Linked DNA regions of Homo sapiens: region 2 is linked to region 1. The links are contacts of gene promoters, found by promoter capture Hi-C in blood cells and fetal thymus (Javierre and others, 2016). All regions are on one chromosome and are shown on one strand. Each heading gives the region's core, a stretch centred on a gene start or on the middle of the fragment in contact. The rest is flanking DNA. Distances are from core to core; before and after follow the strand shown. Region 1 holds the start of ZFP64 (ZFP64 zinc finger protein). Region 2 overlaps TSHZ2 (teashirt zinc finger homeobox 2).

Region 1 (2,909 bases), core at 220-2,719:
TTTTTTTAATCCCCATTTTTACAGGGACTTACTGAAAATAAGGGGGAGGAGAACACAGATAATATACAACTAAATTATATCTAAGCAGATATACTCGAGATACATAATATGTTCCATCTAACACCTTTTAAGGACAAAGCAGGCCAGGCATGGTGGCTTACACCTGTAACCCCAGCACTTTGGGAGGCTGATGGAGGATCGCTTGAGGCCAGGAATTCGAGACCAGCCTGGGCAACATCTCTACAAAAATAAAAATTAAAAAGTGAGCCAGGGTGGTGGCCCACGCCTGTAGGGGGGATTGCTTGAGCCCAGGAGTTGGAGGCTGCAATGAGCTAGGATCCGACCACTCTTCCAGCCTGAGAGACAGAGAAAGACCCCCTCTCTAAAAAAAGAAAGGGAGAAAGAGAGAGAGGCAGAGAGAGAGAAAGAAAGAAAAGAAAAGAAAAGAAAAGAAAAGAAAAGAAAAGAAAAGAAAAGAAAAGAAAAGAAAAGAAAAAGAAAAAGAAAAAAACAGGAAGGAGACAGGGAGTGGTTGGGGGAGGAGGAGGGGGCTGCAATATTAGAATGATTAGATTAGGCCAAGCATGGCCTCCCTGAGTGTGAATTTGAATGCTGACCTTCAGAAGCAGGACAGACTCTATGGGCAAATCCCTCGAGGCTGGGAGAGGTCTGAGGCTTGGGAGGGTCGGCAGAGAGACAATAGGGCTGACGCAGGAGCCCGGGGGAGACAGTAGTAGTAAGACATGAGGGACAGAGCAGAGAGGTCACTGTCCTCAGAGTGTGGACGCCGACCAACACTAGGGGCATCACCTGGGAACTTAGAAATGCTCGTTCTCACGCCTCGCCCCAGACCTACTGAAGCAGAAACGCTAGGGTGGGCCCAACAGCGTGTGTTCTAACAAGCCTTTCAGGCGACTGCGATGCACGATAAAGTTGGCAGCTCCTGGAGCAGGGGTCCCTCCGCGCTACGACCCCACCTCTTCGCGGTCCTCTCAGTCTCCCTAGCGGGGCAAGGGACCCGCCCAGCGCTTTGCTGATTTGCCCAGCGCTCACGCCCAACCTGGGTTTCTCCGGAGCTCGCCGCGCCCCGCGCACCCACCCCGCAACGGCAGCCGCACGTGGGTCTCCCCGCAAACCACCCAGGCGTCCCGGGAGCAGCGCTGCTGCACGGCCGCGCTGGGGGCCCAACGCCTGGGGTTGCAGGTGCAAAAGGCGCCCCGAGCCGGGGAGGCCAATCGCGTCCGCGGAGAACGCAGAGTGCGGGCAGGGGCGCATCCCTCGCCACCCGCGGTCGCCCAGCACGCCGGGACGCGCGTGGCCATCCAGCTCCCCGGGGGCGTTGGGGGGCTCCGCGGGCCTGGGCCTCGGGATTCGCCCGCCGCTTCCCCGGGGAGCCGCTGCTGCAAAGCCAGGTTGGGGCGCCGGGCCCGGCCAGCGCCCTCTAGGCAGCGGAAGTGCAGCTTGCTTTACATCCGTCCTCCCCGCCTCGCAGAGTTGGGAGAAGGCAGGGTGGGGGGTGTGGAAAAATAAAAGGAAAAGTCCTTGCACCATGTAGATCAGCGTCCCCCACTTTGGCATCCCGGCCGGCCGGGGACCTCCCAGTCTGCGGCCATGAACGCGAGCAGCGAGGGCGAGAGCTTCGCGGGCTCGGTGCAAAGTAAGTGCTTTTCCGGGAGCAGTGCGCGCTCCGGGGCCCAGTGCGCGCTCCGGGGCCCGGGCCCAAGCACGTCTGCGACGCAGCCAGCAGGCCCGGGGCCCCGAAATCGGGGTGACGGCTCGGAGCCGCGTCTCGGGGACCGCGGCGGGCGCGCTGTGCAGGGGGCGCCGGAGTGGGCTTGGGGTGGGGGCGCACCCGACCTGGCGCAAGACCGGGGGCGCTCTCCAGCCTTGCGAGACCCCTTGGAAGGGAACAGTGGGGGAGGGCACGCCGTTCAGACAATCGCCACCCCCTAAGGGCATTCCCGCCCCATCAGGCGGAGTTTGGGGCGGGCAGGAGAAAGGGAGGAATCTAGGGTAAACGGGGCAACACTGATGGGAAAACTTCTGCCTCAGTGGCTCAAAATTAGAGCCTGGAGATTGGGGGAATCACCAGGTCTCACGAGGTCCTGCCGGCTCATTGCAAAGCCTTTTCCTCATTAAGGGTGGAGATCTGAATGGAAAACGGGGCCGTGGTCGCTTTATTTGGGTTTGGGGTTCAGTTTTTATTTAACCGAGGAGGACATCAGCGTTTTTCAAGTCCCTGGTTTCTCCCGGTGCATTGTTTCCCAAAGTGTGGTCCAGAGACTGAGTGCAACCAGCCACCTGGGAGCGAGAGCGTGTATTTTAAAACAGCTTTCTGGGCCCCACCCATTCAATCTCGGGGGTGGGGCTGGGGATCCGCTGTCCTTCGTAGCTGCCTGGGCAACTCTGAAGCACATGAAGTTTGAGAACCCATCTACCAGGGGTTTGCAGAAAATCTGGCACATAGTAAGCTCCCAGCTTGTTAGCTGCTACTGTTAACAGTTTGGGAGACACTGGGTCCCAAACTTGGCGGTGTATTCCTTGCATTACTGTGAAAAGCACAGATTTTCCTAAACACCATCCTCCCCACCCCACCCTGTTATGACTCAGTATCTCCTAGGTGGGGCTCAGATATGTCCATGTTTAAATAGTGTACCTCAGTAAGAACCCAGCAGGTAACATGCTGGGGGACTGGCGGGGAGGGGGGACTGTGCTGGTACGAGCACCATCCCATTTAATTCTCATAACAAGCCCGTGTTTTTTCTTGGAGAAATTAAAAACAAACAAAAACCATGGATTAGAAACCTCTCCTCCCATTTTTCAGATGAGAAAACCCACGCTTAAAGTCACTGTTGTTAAGCGACAGTGTCAAGATTCTAACGAAGGTCTATGTCGTTACTTTTGCACTT
Region 2 (3,187 bases), core at 94-2,593, 990 kb before region 1:
ATTACGGTTATTCTGAACATCACGTGATCTTACAGTTGCTAGGGTAACTCCATCTTTTTTAAAGGAGAACAACAGAGTAAATAAGCACGTAAATCGACTTTGGTGCTATGTAAATTCTAGTGAATCTCTTATCGTTACCTTGACGATAAAAAAGCTGGCATTTATCTTCTCTGGCCCCCAGCACGCTTTAGTTTGAACTTAAATTTTATAAAATACACGTGTGGGTATGCCAAAGGCTCTACAGATATCCAGGAAGCAGTGCTGGTCAAGCGATATGTTCAACAGGCAAGGCCGCCTGGACAATGACGATGGGTCACAGAAGAACCAGGGGAGGGAGTAAATGGGAGACCAGATGTTCAGAGTCAAGAGGTAATACCTGTCAATTATGGGCTATCACTCAGTAAGCCTACTCAGGTGGCACGTGAGCTTCTGGAACAGCCGGAAACCTTGTCAACTGTCCAGGTAGTTTGTCCACCTGAAGTCTCACCTATGACTTCTCTGGATCCTTTGGCATCCTAGCACTGAAATCTGCAAAGCTGCTTATGTACTTTCTGTAAGGTGAAAATTACGGATGCAGCACCTGTGATTAAGTCATGATGGCTGGAAGTAAATCTTGGTGAATATTTCTAAATGTTTTCCACATTTCCCATACAGAGGTTTGATAATTTGTTCACCTAGTTTCCATTTTATAATTGAGGTTGGCAGTGGAGACCAAGACTCGATGTGGTGTGGGTCAATTTGGAAGAATTACTTCGAAGAAAATGAGAAAGAAACACTCAAATGAAATCCCTTTTGAGGAAGGAGATACTCTTTTCCTTAAAAAAAAAAAAATCAACATTTGTATCAATAAAGGTTGAGATCAGAAAATGTTTCCCGTTCAATGAGAAAGATTTGGACTGTGATGAAGATAAACTAAAAAGAAAAGAGTTTGACCAACTGGCAAGGGTTTGACCCCTTTCCCCTTTAAAAAAATCACACTAAAACTACAGCTTATGTTTCGCATGAGTGGATGCTCTGAATTGCAATGCAAAGTGCTTATGAAAACTTAAGATCTTACATTACTACTTCAAAGAGTACATGTGATAGGAATTCCTATAGAAGAAAATGAAAAAGGATATAGCTTGAAAATCCAAATTTATAGCAAATTCTGCATCTATCATTTGGCGATGCTATGACTGGATGCTATCACTATTTGGAAGTATCAAAAATATTACAAAGGAAAATTAAGCTTCATTTTACTCTATCTTCTTATAAAGTGAGGCCCACATCCTGGTGATGACTATTTCCTTAATGAGACTATGGGATTTTATCAAACTCCATAAAACATGATTGCATTTCCTTCACTCTGAAATCACCTTATTTTAATTTCCACATGAAATTGGGATGCAATTTGTGTGTACATTTAATATGCGAGGGTTCCTTCTCCACCTCTCACTCACTCCTCCCCAAAAAAGCTTTGGCCAAATCTACAGCATGTTTTACAATGGACAGAGTCTTAGGATTGAGGCAAGTACAATCAAGAGGAGTCAGGGGCTAAGATAAACAAAAGAACATGAAAACAGTGATGGTGATGCCTCATGTGATTAGCTCTATGGTCCCTTCCTCTTCTCAGAGTGACAGGCAGAAAAATCGACAGTTAATTCCAGATCCATCAGGGGCTGTGCTGCCTTTCTACAGAAATGATGAGTTTAGAGAGCAAGCTGCAGATGAGTGTCTGAGCACTCGCGGGAGGTGCCGAGTGTCATGGCAGAAGTTCGTGTGGCATCGCTGTCTGCTGCGTCCAAGAGATGATAGGGTCCTTCCAGAAGAGGAACAGCAGGGTAGCGCAGAAATGGAAGGTAAAAGAGGTTAATTTATGGAAATTATCCAGGTCATGCAACCAGTAGGACATATCAAACAGCTTTAAGAGAGCAGCAGTGATGTGTGTAGGATCTGACTTTTAATAGGTCATGAGACAGTGACAGCTAACGGGGAGCCAGGTAACTTTTGGAGACAAAAGCTAACATTTCCAGAGTGCTTACAATGCACCAGGCACTGTGCAAAGAGCCAAAGCAGTGCGAGAGATACTGTGATCCCCATTTTACAGATGAGGAAATAGAGGCTCTGAGAGTTTCAGCATGAAGTCAGTAAGGGGCAACTCCTCTCAACATTGGGATCAAGTCCTACCTTGGGCACTGTAGGGAGAGCACCTAGGAACTGTCCCTAGAAACATTATGTGTGGGTCCATGACCAGATTTTTATTTATTTTAAAATCAGAAGAAAAATAATGAACTTTTAGATAGAAGAAACTGCTTAAATGTAGATTAACATATTTGTCTGTATACTAATGTAATCATAGGATATAATTTTTAATATCTTTTTAAATGCGAGGGGCCCCGAAGGTAAAGGTGCCAAGGATTCATGGAAGACCTAATGCAGCCCTGAAGAAAGAACTGGAATTAAAGGGCAAGTCTAAAGCCTTGCTTCTTCAAGTGTGGTTTGAGGACCAGCCGTATGTGCACCAGTGAAGGCTCCTTGGAAATGTAGAATCTCGGCACAGATCTGCTGAATCAGAATCTACATTTTAATGAGATCCCCAGTAGATTCATACGCACATTAAAATTTGAGATGCACTCCACTAAATCCTGAACTAACAATTTATACTAACTCTTCATCTTCACATGAGCCACGGCAATTTTAACCTGTATTGGAATCTAAAACCATGCTGGGTAAGGACAGAGGTTTTCCTGGGAGCTGGTTTAGGTGTCCTTTTACCCCTGGTAAGGCAGGTAGGTTACAAAGATGCATACAGTGGTTGGATGCAGTGGTTCACACCTGTAATCTCAGCACTTTGGGAGGCTGAGGCAGGAGGATCACTTGAGGCCAGGAGTTCGAGGCCAGCCTGGACAACATACTAAGACTCCCATTTCTACAATGATAATAACAAAAAATTTCTACAATATAATTTCTACAATAATAACAAAAATAAATACATAAAGAAATACAACTTCTGGCTGGGTGCGATGGCTCGTGCCTGTAATCCCAGCACTTTGGGAGGCCGAAGCGGGTGGATCACAAGGTCAAGAGTTCGAGACCTTCCTGGCCAACATAGTGAAACCCCATCTCTACTAAAAATATAAAAATTAGCTGGGCGTGGTGACGCATGCTTGTAGTCCCAGCTACTCGGGAGGCTGAGGTAGGAGGATCG

Evidence for each region. The method cuts DNA at HindIII sites, captures the fragments that hold promoters and counts their contacts. A CHiCAGO score of 5 or more calls a contact.
Region 2: a fragment that was not itself captured here is called in contact with the fragment with the promoter of ZFP64 in region 1 in 1 of 17 cell types (naive CD8 T cells); the score reaches 5.8 in naive CD8 T cells.

What each region holds. Positions count from the first base shown.
Region 1 is chr20:52,190,339-52,193,247 of GRCh38, reverse strand. It overlaps ZFP64 (ZFP64 zinc finger protein), which reads left to right and starts at 1,469. Exons shown (of 6, transcript NM_018197.3): 1 at 1,469-1,657. The coding sequence starts at 1,612. RefSeq lists enhancers at 588-717, 1,758-2,614 and silencers at 1,128-1,397, 1,758-1,997. The HindIII fragment of the contact is 28,170 bases long and covers 1-2,909 here.
Region 2 is chr20:53,176,789-53,179,975 of GRCh38, reverse strand. All of the region lies in intron 1 of TSHZ2 (teashirt zinc finger homeobox 2), which reads right to left. Among named protein-coding and RNA genes, the nearest start is that of TSHZ2, 210 kb to the right of the region's middle. The HindIII fragment of the contact is 226 bases long and covers 1,231-1,456 here.